Linked DNA regions of Homo sapiens: all the other regions are linked to region 4. The links are contacts of gene promoters, found by promoter capture Hi-C in blood cells and fetal thymus (Javierre and others, 2016). All regions are on one chromosome and are shown on one strand. Each heading gives the region's core, a stretch centred on a gene start or on the middle of the fragment in contact. The rest is flanking DNA. Distances are from core to core; before and after follow the strand shown. Region 1 overlaps GTF3A (general transcription factor IIIA). Region 2 holds the start of MTIF3 (mitochondrial translational initiation factor 3). Region 3 has its middle 3.3 kb from the start of POLR1D. Region 4 holds the start of NUP58 (nucleoporin 58). Region 5 has its middle 4.4 kb from the start of PAN3.

The links. Contacts are between HindIII fragments. The CHiCAGO score rates a contact against its expected background, and 5 or more counts as called.
Region 1: a contact is called between a fragment that was not itself captured here and the fragment with the promoter of NUP58 in region 4, in 2 of 17 cell types (non-activated CD4 T cells and fetal thymus). The highest score is 6.4, in non-activated CD4 T cells.
Region 2: a fragment that was not itself captured here is called in contact with the fragment with the promoter of NUP58 in region 4 in 1 of 17 cell types (naive CD4 T cells); the score reaches 7.5 in naive CD4 T cells.
Region 3: a contact is called between a fragment that was not itself captured here and the fragment with the promoter of NUP58 in region 4, in 1 of 17 cell types (non-activated CD4 T cells). The highest score is 7.1, in non-activated CD4 T cells.
Region 5: a fragment that was not itself captured here is called in contact with the fragment with the promoter of NUP58 in region 4 in 3 of 17 cell types (total CD4 T cells, neutrophils and naive CD8 T cells); the score reaches 7.5 in total CD4 T cells.

What each region holds. Positions count from the first base shown.
Region 1 is chr13:27,424,714-27,427,760 of GRCh38, reverse strand. GTF3A (general transcription factor IIIA) reads right to left here. Exons shown (of 9, transcript NM_002097.3): 1 at 2,823-3,047; 2 at 569-669. The coding sequence starts at 3,023. Among named protein-coding and RNA genes, the nearest start is that of GTF3A, 1.6 kb to the right of the region's middle. RefSeq lists enhancers at 1,468-1,687, 2,638-2,707 and silencers at 2,798-2,877, 2,978-3,037. The HindIII fragment of the contact is 2,120 bases long and covers 738-2,857 here.
Region 2 is chr13:27,450,520-27,453,396 of GRCh38, reverse strand. It overlaps MTIF3 (mitochondrial translational initiation factor 3), which reads left to right and starts at 2,833. Exons shown (of 5, transcript NM_152912.5): 1 at 2,833-2,877. RefSeq lists enhancers at 2,399-2,458, 2,479-2,838, 2,682-2,877. The HindIII fragment of the contact is 761 bases long and covers 1,247-2,007 here.
Region 3 is chr13:27,623,576-27,626,740 of GRCh38, reverse strand. It overlaps a transcript of POLR1D not described here. Among named protein-coding and RNA genes, the nearest start is that of POLR1D, 3.3 kb to the right of the region's middle. The HindIII fragment of the contact is 1,313 bases long and covers 1,247-2,559 here.
Region 4 is chr13:25,300,135-25,303,041 of GRCh38, reverse strand. It overlaps NUP58 (nucleoporin 58), which reads right to left and starts at 1,417. Exons shown (of 16, transcript NM_014089.4): 1 at 1,162-1,417. The coding sequence starts at 1,268. RefSeq lists enhancers at 1,122-1,171, 1,282-1,361, 1,522-1,761. The HindIII fragment of the contact is 2,784 bases long and covers 686-2,907 here.
Region 5 is chr13:28,132,781-28,135,552 of GRCh38, reverse strand. No RefSeq gene overlaps it. Among named protein-coding and RNA genes, the nearest start is that of PAN3, 4.4 kb to the left of the region's middle. The HindIII fragment of the contact is 6,379 bases long and covers 1-2,772 here.

The sequences.
Region 1 (3,047 bases), core at 548-3,047, 2.1 Mb before region 4:
AACTTTTAAGACTTCTTTACAAATAGGAACAAATACAAATATAGTTGCTTCCTGCCTACCCAACACCCACTACTCACCCCTCCCCCTACCCCCTAGCTTTTTTACACACATAAAAGTAGCCTAAAGAGGACTCTTCTGCACCTTGGTTTTTCAATTAAAGTGCCCTGGTGATTTTCTCATGGCTTTGCAGAGAGCATCTGCATTCATTTTCCTGGCTGTAGGGTATCCCATTGTGTTGATATACTTTAGCTTGTCCCCACCCATGAGCATTTTATGTTAGCTCAGCCTCCTGGGTAGCTAGGATTACAGGCACAAACCACCATCCCTGACTAATTTTTGTATTTTTGTACATACGGGGTTTCACCATGTTGCCCAGGTTTGTCTCAAACTCCTGGGTTCAAGTGATCTGCCCATCTCCGCCTCCCAAAGTGCTGGGATTACAGGCATGAGCCACCGAGCCCTGCCAGGCTTCACATTCCTGATCTCGTGAGTTAACATCAATCTTCTTACTGGGTCTATATGCCCAACACAACCCACTTCAAAAGCCTAAAAACAGGTCTCTACTTACACAAACGGCTTTTCTCCTGTGTGAGTCAGAATGTGGCGGCTCAGATGGTAGTCCCTGATGAAGGCCTTGCCACACCCTTCATAGTCACAAACAAATGGTCTCTAGCAGGAAAAAAGAAAAAGCATGTCACTTCTGCACTAGTTAGTAACTCTGGTATTATTTAAAAGCTTAAACTGCCTAGTGTTAAGGCCACAGGCTTCCTATGAAGAGGTGGTTTCTACTCAGAGCTGTGCACCCACTGCAAGACGCAGTGTTCCTGCACAAAGTTACACAACATAAACATCACAACTTCTCACAAAGTCACTACACAGATTTTTGTTCCATGAACAGCATTTAAAATAAGCAGGCATAGCATTTTTAACCTGCTCCCAACCCGGCAGCAGGCTTTCACAGCAACCCCCTCTTAAAGACGCCCTGGCTGTTAGCATGGCTTGTCTGCATGGATCCCCACCACCGCATGATTTAACATGTAAAAAAGCAAGCCTAGGGCAGAGGAACGAGGGAGGCCTGTCTCATCCCAGACAAGCCCAGGGTCTGTGCTAGGATAATGCCAAGCACAGCTATAGGAAAGTGTGTCACACCTGAAAAAGCTCACAGGTGCCAGGGCGAAGCAAAGAAAACAGCTCAACACCCTAAATGCAACCACCTTTTGTAACCCAGGAGTTGGGAGGGGGTGACTCATTTTGAACCTATAGTAAAAGCCAAACACACACCCCAAATAACCAAATAACCAGTTTGGTGCATCAAACTATGAAAAGCATACTACCAAGGCGTCCAGGAGGGAGGCACCGAGGCCTCCATGAGAGTACTAGGAGCAAAACAAGCAAACAGGAACACAGTGAGCTACATACCACCAGGGGCGGAGCCACAGAACCTTGCACAGCGGCAGGCGTGGAGTAGGCTCAATAAACATTTGTCAAATTAATCTGCATGAGAGATCTGGGACAACAAAGATGACTCCAAGTTTTTCAACCTGTATTAAGGAAACTGGTAGCGCCAGTATCCAAAATACAGCACACCGGTCTAAAAGGAAAGGCAAGCTCTTACGTGGATCTACTGGTAATACAGAGCCCAGAATTTAGAGGCTAGAACGGGCAAGAGGAAGGGCAGAGGGGCAAAGCATAAAGGATGTTATGAGTCATGCCGGTGGCTATGTAAGACCGCAAGAGGGAGCTGGGCGGGGTGGAACATGCAGAGGGCAGAAGAGGATCCAACGAAAAGGGCAGACGAGGAAGAGGAAAAGAACCAGAGAAGGTCTCAAGGAAGAAGCGGTCGGCCTTCCAGTGCTGGAGAGGTTAAGGAATGAGGCCCCGGAGGACACCTGGAGAAGGTGGCCCATAAATTAGAGGAGGTGCAAGGGGCAAAGGTATGGACTGCAGCCCAGTGGTTTAAGAAATTAAGGGCTTTAAGCTGAGGCAGTGTGAAGCCTAGCTCTGCCAAAAACTGGGAAGCTGGGCAGATTCCTTGACCTCCATGACCCTCGTTTTCCTCACTTGTGTGTGACATGGGCTGCCACGTCATATCATGGTATCTGACATTCTCCTGCCCTCAAAATAAAATCCAAACTCCTAATGGGCCTACTTCTCAGACCTCATATGGTGATCTCCGCACCCAAACACACCCACCTGCCTCCCACCCCAAGGGTCACAGGCTCCCTTTGTGTTCTCTCTACCTAGCACAAATGTCTGCATGGCTAGATCCTTCCTTCTTACACGGCTCACACAGAGAGGCCTTTCCTGACCACAACACTGCATGTCATTCCCACCTATCCTGTGGTCGGCTCGACCCAGGAACAAAGGTCCATGGCAGCAGAAACCTTGGGTTTGCCTGTTTTGCTCACTGCTCTCTCCAGTGTGGAGTTACGAAGAAATGAGCACATGCTGCTTTCACGACCCCTGGTACATGTAACCCATCTTCTGTACCAGCTCCAGGGGCCAGTGTTTGGCAGGTGTCTAGTAGCGGTGGGCCCCCTCAAACCTCACACTTATTTGCAGATTACGGGAGGCACTTGGCTGGCCGAGACTCACGATCAATGACTGCTTAGTAAATCCCGAGCCCCTGCCATGGATATCAAGGTCGCAGAACGAAGGTCCTACAACTTCCTGTCTACTTCCTCAGCTCCTTCCCCAAGTCCTGGATGTCAAAGCTGAACGCGCTGCACAGCGGGGCCTGCGGCCCTGGCCACGACTGCAGTGGCTACCCCGGGGCCACGCGCCATCCCTAGGCCCAGGGTTGGCAGCCTCGCCCCCCTCACCTCCCCCGTGTGCTTGCACAGGTGCGCGTCAAGCTTCCAGGCTTTGCTGTAATTGGCGCTGCAGTCAGGGAAGGAGCAGATGAACCTCCTGGGAAGCGCGGGGCGCGGCGGGGTCGGAGCTGAGCTCTCGCCGGCTGCAATGAACGCGTCGGCGATGGTCAAGGACGACACCGACTCGGCGACCACGGCCGGCGGATCCAGGGCGCCGGCGCCTCCAAGCCCAGG
Region 2 (2,877 bases), core at 378-2,877, 2.2 Mb before region 4:
CAGAGCCGACACGGTGCCACTGCACTCCAGCCTCGGCAGCAGAGTGAGACTCCGTCTCAAAAAACAAACAAACAAAACAAAAAAACAACCACCACCAGGATTTTTATTAGTATTAGATTTTTAAATGAATTGTTAGTCATTGTGGCATTATAAAGACGCAGCCCAGTGTTCATAACTTTTTAAAGAAATCACCCACAGACTGATTCTTTTGTGGATCAGATATGTTGTACCTCAATGACCTTGGGCTAAGCAAGTAAATCTCACATACAATCCTGTTTTGGAAGGTCCCCTCGGCGTTGGGGAAAAGTGGGAGGACTTGGAAAGCTAACAGGCAAAGAGAGGGACGGGATATTTCCATTATTCCTTCATCAGAGCAAATCACCAATATATTCATTGAAAGAGAAAGTTCATGGGCATGCTATGGAAATTAACGTAGAAATTACTATGTAATAGAAAATATAGGCATTTTTAGAGTCACCATGATTTGAGTCTTATTGAGTTACATTTTTTGAGGGGGTTAAATTATATGTAGAAACGATAACAATTGGGAAAGCTCTACACATGTCTCAGAGTCCTCTTCTATGTACATAACGGAGTAGTTTATTAAAGATCTGTGGCATAGTAATAGCATTTCCCCAAACCTCTTCATCTTTATTCAAGGATCTTCAAAGTCTGCCCCCACCAAGCACAGCTCAAGGCTCTCAATGACTCTTTAAAAGCTTCCAAGTGGCCGGGCGTGGTGGCTCACACCCGTAATCCTACCACTTTGGGAGGCCGAGTGGGGTGGATCACCTGAGGTCAGGAGTTCGAGATCAGACTGGCCAATATGGTGAAACCCCGTCTCTACTAAAAATACAAAAATTAGCCCGACCCAGTGGCACGCGCCTATAATCCCAGCTACTCGGGAGGCTGAGGCAGGAGAATCGCTTGAACCCGCGAGGTGGAGGTTGCAGTGAGCCGAGATCGCGCCACTGCACTCCAGCCTGGGCGACACAGAGAGACTCCATCTCCAAAAACAAAACAAAACAAAACAAAACAAAAAAACAAAAAACCCCACAAAAGCTGCCAAGCTCCATTTCGGCTGGAGGTCAAAGAAGAGTTCAAGGGAAAAGATGAAAAAAATGGCTTCTCTCCATCTGTGGGCATGTCTGTAATTGCCACCCCATCTCTGCATGTCTCCTCCCAGGAACACTAAAGCACCATCTTCTAGGCGTGGAGACATCTGACAATGGAAGTCTAGAAAGCTTCCTAAACCACCTGCTCTGGACACAGCTGCCTTCAAAGACGGACTGCAAATGGATGCTGGCCGGTAGCTTCAGTTACCAGTGATTACTTGGTGTGAATCTACCTGTGCTATTACCTTAGCAAATTTTAAGTCTTTAGTTTGGGCATTAAATGTTTCAGTTACTTGTACATACTTCACATCCTTTTAATGTTTTCATGGACTCGTACTGTTTACTGTTTCTCTCACTACTTCAGTCTAGCAATGCAAGGAACATTTAAAGTTTGCCTGGGTTTGGGGTTTTTTGGCTTTTTTATTCTTGATTCTGCTACTAGTTGTGCGACCTTGGGCAAATTTGTTTCAGTTCCCTCATCTGTAAAATGGGTAATAATAATAATTGGCTCATAAGGTTGTCCTGAAGATTGAATAACTTGAGATATGTTCAGTGCGTAGAACAGTGTCTGGCACATAGGCAAAAGCAATCACAAATGTGGGCAATTATAATTGCTGAGCACCTAACTTTTCCCAGGTATTGTGCTACTCAGTCTGTCCCCGAATCTACGTCACACAAAATATCTTGGCATTGAGAAATAATTTTGATAGAATAAAATGAATCCTTAATTCTTCTTGATTAACTTGGAAATGGCCAAGATGCACACCTGGACTTTCGGTCTCACACAAGAGTTGTTTCATTACCTCCCTATTTTAACAGTGAGCGTCGAGCTACCAGCAGCTAAAAAGGAAATGGAGATTTCGTCTTTGCTCCCAAAGAACTATTTAAAGCTTTAGTAGTTGTGTCATCTGTAATAAAAGACGTAATGCTGACTCAAGGAGTTAATGAGAAATAAGACAACGCCTTCCAGTGGACAAGTAGCCAATAAATGTTAGTTTTTCTTCGTACCAGGAATCCAAACATTCCAGGTATGAAGCCAGATTAGGTGGCTTCACGACTGTGGACTCGCAGTCTGCCCTTGAGGAATTTCTTATTGAAGAAGAAAAAGAGGGGGGACACGGGGCCCAGACCCCCAGCACCCGGCTTTCGAGCAGGCTCCACGGGTCCGGGTCCGGGTCCGTTTTCCCTTTCGCCAGCTGGGGCCCCGTTCGAACCTCTCCCAACTACAACGCGGAGGCTCCGACGCCCCGGCCCCAGCTTTGTTTTGCCTCCGGGAGCCGCGCGCCACCGGGGACCCGCGGGGAGCCGTTCTCACTCCGAAGCTGTCTGCTCACCTGCAAATCGGAGACAGCGCCCTTTCACTTACGATCCTTATAAAAGACGCTTATAAAACATTTTATTCAGTGTTACATTAAAAAGACGTTTATGAAAGCAATTTATAAAGCCCTAGTGGGAGACCGAGATTGGTGTTAATGTAACTGGAGTAAGGGCTGCTCCGATTGCTGCAGAAATTCGACATTAGCCTTCACCGCACCTGCGGAGCAGCGGGAGCCAGGTGAGCAGCAATTTCCCCTCAGGGACTTCCTCCGCGTTCTCCGCATTTTCTGTCGGCGGAACTGAATCCCAACAGTAGAAAAACGTGGCTCCGCCCATCACCTTTCCTTTAAAGGACGCGGGGTGAAGCCCCGCCCACTACGGAGAGCGAAGGGGACTCGCCGCAGATCCGCTGTACTTGCGTCCGCTACAGTATGTCAATCGCTTG
Region 3 (3,165 bases), core at 654-3,153, 2.3 Mb before region 4:
ATATTTAATAATCAGCTTTTTAAAAGTCACAGTACTTTACAGCTGAAGAGAATTTCTGATCTTGAATCACTGGCATGAGTTTATTTAGAATGAAATGCTATTGGAGTGCAAATCAGATGCGGATTAACTTTTCACAGGATGTATAAGATTCACATTCATCTCCCTAGTCCTTTTTGGACCAACTCAGCTTTCCCTCAGGTCCCTACAGACTTTATGCAGATTCCTTTCACATATACAAGACTCTTGGTTAACCTGCCTGCCCCCTTCTCAGTTTCTTCCCTCCACCCAACTGCCTTCTGCAGGTGTTTTGTATGAACCCGTGAGTTTATGGTCACCCTAAAGACATTCAAGACTGCATTCTACGTGATCAGTCTAAATTCTTTTAGGTGCAATGAAGTTGTGATGTGGTGAGCGGTCGCCTCTGGCTGTGTTTCCCACTGTACTTCATCTACTATCATCAGTCTGTACCTTGATGTCCACTAATTAAACTTTGTTTTCATCTCCTGACAGGCCTTGGTTTAGAGGAATTAAACTCCAGGTAAGTAATTCTGTTTACTATCCCCACAGGCAAAGTTTTGGGAGAGGAAAAAAGTTTTTAATCCTTTTCCACATCCTTTTTGAGCTTCCTTTTATCTTCAAAGGCTAATGCCCTTAAACAAACATTGACTTTCCAGAATTTCTTACTGTCACCATAAGAGAATATGCTGTATCCTTGCCCTATGACATCCCTGCTCCCGCCTAAACTCACCTCTTCCAATGTCTTCATGTGATTCTTTTATTGGAAAACCAAACTAAGCCATTCCTCTGTATAATGAGTGGTAATGTTTACTCTTCTTAGGCAGTAAACTAATGCTGTTACTGCCTAGTGACCTCCACGTTAACTCCAGGTGACATTTTTCTATTCCCTATTTGAAACCCTTGGCTTCCACACCCTATTTTTGCACTTTCCTACCATTACATTGACCCAAACTTACAAATACTCTTATCTTTAACTCTTCTTTGACCCAAACTTTAAATACTGAAGTTGCCTAGGGCTTTGTTCTGGGCCCACTTCTTTGTCACCCTCTATTTTTTTTTTTTTAATCAATTTATGTCATCTTTATGGCAAGGACTCATAAAATTTGTCTCCAGCTTAGATCTCTTCCACGATCTCCAACTCACATAGCCACTGCTTACAATGTTCACAAATGAAACTTTTGACTCCTATCATCTTTTCCACCTCCCAATCTATTTTCCATTTTAAGCTTCCCAATTTCAGTAATTGGCCCCAAAGCTAGGCAGTAGTCATCTTTGATTCTTCATCTTCCACAGTTCCTGAAGTGTACCAATTCTGTGCCAATTCAATTCTAAAATATACCTCAAACCTACCTTCTCTTCTCCATCACTAGCTTCTACCCTTCCAGGCCACTTCAACTCTTTATAGTGTCTCTCTCTGCTTCTACTCCAGCCTCCCTATAATTCATCTCCCCCCACTCTGTAATCAAAGTAAAGAAGACGTCATTCCCACTGAACCTAAAATCCAAAATCCCTACTACCCCAACTCTTCCTCCCATGGACTCCAGAGGACAGGCCCTTCTCCTTGTCTACTGTGCTACAAAAACATGCAAATCTTTGTTCAATATCTTCAGTTCCTCATGCCACCAGTTTTCTGCTTTAGGACCTTTGCACATGCTATACCCCCAGAATGCATTTTCTCTCCTCTTTGCACAGCCAGCTCTCTCCCTTCCTGTAATCTCTAGAACACCTTTCCTAACTTCCGTGCCTAAAGTAGATTCCTTTCTTATGTTTTCTATCTTGACCCTACATTTGCTGCTTTTACAGAATTACAAGTTTTTAATTTTATATATTTTTTTGAGACAAGGTCTCCCTCTGTCACCCAGGCTGGAGTGCAATGGTGTGATCATGGCTCATTGCAGCCTCAACCTCCTAGGTTCAAGATATCCTCTCGCCTCAGCTTCCCAAGCAGCTGGGACTACAGGCATGTGTCACCATGCCTGGCTACCTTTTTTATTTTTTTGTAGAGACAGGGACTCCCCATGTTGCCCAGGCTTGTCTCAAACTCCTGGGCTCAAGTGATCCTCCCACCTTGGCTTCCCAGGTGTGAGCCACCATGCCGAGCCTCACAATTTTTTTTTAAGGGGCTCTTATAACACATGCTTTATGAGAACAGGACTTACTCTGTCTCATCCACTATAGCTATATATCTATCCCCAAGGCCTGGAACATACTAGTGCTCAAAAATATGGATATCTCTTTAAAGAATTTGGCTGAGTGTAGGAAATGTAGGCTCTATGGCACGCTAGTGTAAGAGGTCAGGTTTGAGTGACTGAAAAGCTGCATGCCATAACTACTTACATGAATTCATAGAGTATTTACTAAGTGTCCACTACCTGTCAGGTGTTCCAGGTACCAGAATCATGTTGACCTCCAAGTTGGTTTAGTGGGTAAACAAGATAAGCACTACCAATAGCATAGTAAATGCCAAGGCCAGGAAACACAGGGTGTAATGAAAGCACAAAGAAGTACCCAAACTAGGCTGAGAGGCCTGACACATAAGCTTTGACTTAAGAGTACGGCAGGAGTAAGACTGGCCCAGGAAGAGGGGATAGATAAACAAGGGCCCAAAGCACAGAGCACTGGCGGGTGGGATATGTGTTTTCCAAAACAGTCATTTCCCCTATATGGAATTTTCCTTCTCCTTGGCTTTACCTTCTCTCAAATAGGGCTTCTTCTACATTACCCTAGGCTATACCTACTTAAGGACTGAAAATGTTTTCTAGTCATCCCAATTTTCTCCTTCTGTAATATAATCAAAACATCTTACCTTACTTAGATCATGACTAAGTATATCCCAAAATTCAAGCAGTAAACTGGTATCTTTCCTGTAAATGCCTCAAAGATGGAGCCTTACTCCCTAAAACTCTCATGTAAAACCAGAATTCTCACACTTCTTCCAAATTATTCCCACCCTTGCCAAGTCTACCAATCACAGCAAATGATGCAATTCTTTAAAAGCCAAAAAGTTTAGCAAGAAGCCAAGTCCCCACCCCAATCTTCTTTCCTTCTGTTTTTAAACAACAATCTAACTGGGGTCATGGTTTTTGTCTCTTCCCTTACCCCCACCACTCCAACTACAGACATGGATATATACTTCTTTTAATTCCC
Region 4 (2,907 bases), core at 168-2,667:
ATGTAAGGATCAAGAGAGCAAGACTCTTAATACCTAAAACAGAGCCTTGCACATGGGAATCTGTCCAATAAATATTTGTTCCACGAATGACAATAGCCTAAGCAGGGTTGTGGAACTGGAAATAAAGACAAACAGAAATGGCAGAAGTAACATTATCAGAACCTGTTGTTGAGCGAGTAGAGTAAGAATAACGGAGGTATGGATGAAAATTCAAATTTCTGAATTGACTGTGTAGTCCGTGGTTCCTCCTCCCTCCCTTTTTAAACTGCAGGTCATGCTTAAGTATTTGCCTTTTAAATCTACAGCCACATCTTTTAAGCTTCAGGAAGTATCTTGTTGACAGTGTGCACACTCCTTAACTTTATGAACCCCTCCACCTTTATCTTAAAAAAAATTGAGTTCTAAAGCTTAAATCTCTCATTAAAATGTCTCACCACTTTGTTTCTTTCTGGATAGTTATGTTTTTGTCGCCACCTGAACTAATGGGTTGCACAAAAACAAGGAACATGCTACCTACGTTTTGTAATTTAAGTAAAAGACAAATTGAGTTATTACAACACAACATTCTCGCATCAGATATACTAATCTGCACATACTGCAGAAAATTACCACTAATAAACACTGTAAAAAAGTGTTTTTGTTTTTTTTAACAAAAACAGATAAGGTCCCATGTGGCACAAAAGCTTGAAAAGCTGGTTAAAAACCACAAAGTTATTAAAACACCGTCATATCCAAAACCGCAAATGCTGCAATGAAATCGGAATTATCTATCATAAAACTCCACAGTATGCTATAATTTCATTCATTCATTCAATGTTCATTCTATGCCTAAGACTGACACATCGCTAAAGCTCCGGGGTAGACCCCAAGGCCCTTCCACGCAGTCAAGACCCCACTAGGTCCAAATAATGCCTGAACTATACGTGGATTCTGGAAACCTCACAGCACAGAACCCATCCCGCCCTCCACTTCACCAGGCCGCGCTGGGCCCGGGTACCGCGGCGAGAGGCCTACGACGCCGGGCGGCTAGATTAAGTGCTTCTCTCCAGCCCCACTGGGAAGGAAGCCAGAGGGAAGAGACAGGATGGGGACACCAAGGGAGCTTTGCGGGGGTGGGGGTGGGGGTGAATCCGGCCCAGGAAGGCGAGAAAGTGCGGTTACCTAGACGCTCCCGTTCCGAAGGAGAAAACGCCGCCTGTGCTGGTCCCGCCGGCGGCCACGGTGGTGGAGCCCAGAGTCCCGGACCCGAAGGAGAACCCTGTGGACATGTCTGGCCAGGGCTCGACGCCGTCAGCAAGGCGAAATGGGTCTGGGACACTTCTCTCGCCTCAAAGCCGAGGCGGGCCGGGCAGCATCTCTCTCGCCCGGCACGGACCTGGCGGGAACTTCCAGCCCCAACGGCGGCGAAGGCAAGGCTGAGGGGGTGGAGCAACCACGCAAAAGTACGCCCGGCGCTCGCCGCGCGCACGTAGCCCGCCGGAAGTGTAACCGTCACGCAATGAGCCCTGGTACGTGAGTGGGGGACGGCGAGCCGCGCAAGGTACGCTGGGACCAGGCGAGAATAGGCGTACTGCCTAATCTCTTAAAGGAGTAGGCTCCCAGAGTTTAAAAACAGTAAAACCATTTCTGTCATTTTTTAGTTCTTCTATCGTAGCATCTGTACTGACATAATCCGCACTTTAGGGTGATGAATGTCAATTGCTACTTCTATCTAGCCTCCTGCCAAAATTGATGCTCAGAATCGCAGAATCGGGGAGGTCCCTCCTGAGCATCTCTAAGCTCCCCACTCAGAAAAGGAGGCGGCTTCGGGCTTTCGTTGGCTGCCGCCCCATCCCTAAGAAGGAAGGGGAGCGTGTCTGCTTCCTGAAGGTTCGGAAATCAATCGAAAATAATCCATGCAACCGTCCCACGACGTGAGCCCCACCCCTGCGCCCCAGGCCTCGCGGAGCCAGTTGGTCGCAGTTGTTGCGAGCCCGACGCCCAGCCCCGAAGGGGGCCCAGAAGAGCGTCCCAGGCGTCCGTGGGGTGGCCGGCTGTGGTCCTGGCGCCCAGAAGTGGCCAGGCCCGCTGGATTTCCTGGGATGCGGTCAAGTCCACAAATACTGTCCGTGCATCCTGATGCTGGAGGGCGGGACCTTGGGCCGAGCGAGTGTGGCTCCGCCAGAAGGGCCCTCGGACACAACCGGTGCTGGAGGAACTACAAAGTGGAAGGATTAGGAAACGCACAGGAACATGTACGAAAGAAGGCGAAATGTGAGGTGTAACTTACATTTCTAGGATAACTCAAGAAAAATTCGCGTTTAAAGAGAACCTCTCTGGCGAAGCATCAGGAAAGGCTTCCTGGTGGTGGTGCATTCGAGGGTTGTCATCATAGTGTTAGTTTTTATTTTTCCCTCAGGGATTGTTACATTACTCCCCCAAATGGTTTTCCTACTCGTGATCTCTAACAAAATCCATCCCATAAGCAACCCCCGGATTTATGATCTAAAAAGCCCAGTGGCTCTTTAGTTTGGCACTTGATGACCTCCGTATGATTAGTCTTTCTAACCTCATCTCACAGTTCTCCCTAATTCAGTACTTTAATCTTCCGTTGAGCTTGGGCATTGCCACCAGCTGTGGACTGAACTATTTCCCTCCTCCCCCAATCCATATGTTAAAGCCCTACCCCACCCCAATATGTTGGTATTTGGAGATGGAGCCTTTGGGAGGTAATTCAATTTAGATGAGGTCACCTTGGTGGGTCGCCCATGGCGAGATTAGTGCCCTTATGAGAAAAAACAACGAAGAGCTTGTTCTCCTCTGTGTGCCATGTGAGGACAGAGCAAGAAGGGGCTTTCACCTGGAACCCAAACTGCCCCATCTTTATCTGGGACTTAGCCTCCAGAATTGAGAGAAGTAAATGTCTGT
Region 5 (2,772 bases), core at 250-2,749, 2.8 Mb before region 4:
ACTACTTATTCCTATAGTAGGGTTGTCTTTTTAAGCAGGGTTCATTGTTGAGTATTCCTTTACTAAAAATAAATATGTAGTCAACTCTAAGTTATTTTCATGTTAATGAAGATTACATCCAAAACTGCAAATAATCCATAAATTATTCATAAAATGTATACTTGACCTCCAACAGCATTTCCCCAGCAACAGAGACTACATTGCTAAAGGGTAATGTTAATTTCTATTAAATGCTAATAATTGAGGCCAAGCGCATTGGCTCACACCTGTAATCCTAGCACTTTGGGAGGCGGAAGTGGGTGGATCACTTGAGGTAAGGAGTTTGAGACCAGCCTGACCAACGTGGTGAAACCCCGTCTCTACCAAAAATACAGAAAATTAGCTAGGCATGGTGGCAGGCACCTGTAATCCCAGCTTCTCGGGAGGCTGAGGCAGGAGAATTGCTTGAACCTGGGAGGCGGAGGTTACAGTGAGCCGAGATTGCGCCATTGCATTCCAGCCTGGGCAACAGAGCGAGACTTCATCTCAAAATTAATAATAATAAAGATTGAGAGGAAAACGTCACATTTTCTGAATGGTTAATTATTATATTAGTGATAGCAGCCTGAGTCTTAAAAATTCTCCCTTAAGGACAAGCATGTGGCTCACACTTATAATCCTAACACTTTAGGAGGTCAAGGCAGGAGAATCACTTGGCTCAGAAGTTCTGAGACCAGCCTAGGCAACATAGGGAAACACTGTCTCTACAAAAAAATTTAGCTGGGCATGGTGGCATTCTGTGGTCACAGCTACTTGGGAGGCTTAGGTGGGAGGATTGCTTGGGCCAGGAGGTCGAGGCTGCAGTGACAGCCTAGGTGACAGCAACCCTGGTGTCACCTGGTGAAAAAAAGGTGACCCTGTCTCAAAAAAAAATAAAAATTATCCCTTAAGATAGAGTGGAAACTGCATGTGGATAAATGAGAGTTGACTGTTTTTGAGTCCTAGAAATGAAATTTGCTGCATATGTATAAATACATTTCTTACATATTTGTAAAGTATGTTCCTTATGCACTAAGCTCTATAATTTTATACAAAGTTACTAGCAACTGCTTAATTTAATCTTGTTGACAAATTTTGGGTGCACTAGAAGCAAAAACCTTCCTATTTGTGGCAGTGATAAATAACTGATACATGACAGATTTTTTGGCCAGGCGCAGTGACCCACGCCTGTAATCCCAGCATTTTGGGAGTCCAAGGTAGGCGAATCACTTGAGGCCAGGGTTCCAGAACAGCCAGGCCAACATGGTGAAACCCCATCTCTACTAAAAATACAAAAGTTAGCCAGACGTGGTGGTGCAAGTGCCTGGTGCAAGTGCCTATAATCCCAGCTACTCGGGAGGCTGAGGCACGAGAATCACTTGAACCTGGGAGGCAGAGGTTGCAGTGAGCCAAGATCGTGCTACTGCACTCCAGCCTGGGTGACAGAGCAAGACTACGTCTCAAAAAAAAGATTTTTTAATGTATCTATGACCCTTTATAGAAGACATAGTCTTTCATCATTATCATCATACTTATGTACTGATATATACTACATAGGTTTTTTTAGTGTTTATGGCAGTAAAAGCAATTTGTTACCTTTCTATACAAGTTTTCAAAGGATTTCAAGATGCTCATATTTATTATATTCTTGTGAAATACATTAAAGGCAAATATGATTTTGAAATTAATTATATCTTGGAAATGGCCCTGACAATCTAGTATATCATTGGTATCATCCCATACAACTACCACCAGCCATATAGAAGTACCTTTAACTTAGCAAAACTCACTATTACCACTTCTGTTGGTTAAGCACCCCCTACTCCAGAAACTAATATTTGTATGTGAAATATGACCATTATAATCTTAAATCGGATAATTCTCTATTAATAATTGATTTTACTATTTCAAAGACTATGTTTATTTCAGTTTAGATTTTCTAATTTATACTTGGATGAAAAACTTTAAATCAGGAGACTTGCTGAAAAAGATATGTATTAAAGCAAGAATTTTTTTTTTCTTTTTTTTGAGACGGAGTCTCACTCTGTCGCCCAGGCTAGAGTGCAGTGGCGCAATCTCGGCTCACTGCAAGCTCCACCTCCCGGGTTCACGCCATTCTCCTGCCTCAGCCTCCTGAGTAGCTGGGATTACAGGCATGCGCCACCACCCCCAGCTAATTTTGTATTTTTAGTAGAGACGGGGTTTCTCCATGTTGGCCAGGCTGGTCTCAAACTCCTGACCTCAGGTGATCCACCCGCCTTGGCCTCCCAAAGTGCTGGGATTACAGGCATGAGCCACCGCTCCCGGCCAGAATTTTTTTTCTTAATCTTTACAACTTTTCTGTAAAAAGCAAGAATCTTAATAAGATATACTATTAATAAAATGAAGCTCCCGAAAAAAAAAAAAAAAAACTTTGTCTTTTACTGTCTGTTAACCCTTTCACATGACCTATTATAGAGCAATAATATAAGTGCTAAAATTTATTCACAAGGTTTTTTATTTTATTTTATTTTATTTTGAGACAGAGTCATGGTCTGTCATCTAGGCTGGACTGCAGTCGCATGATCATGGCTCACTGCAGCCTCAACCTCTTAGGCTCAAGTGATCCTCCCACCTCAAAGTAGCTGGGACTACAGGCATGTGCCGCCAGTCCTGGCAAATTTTTTATTTTTTGAAGAGACAGGGTCTCACTGTGTTACCCAGGCTGGTCTTGAACTCCTGAGCTCAAGCAATCCTCCCACCTCAGCCTCCCAA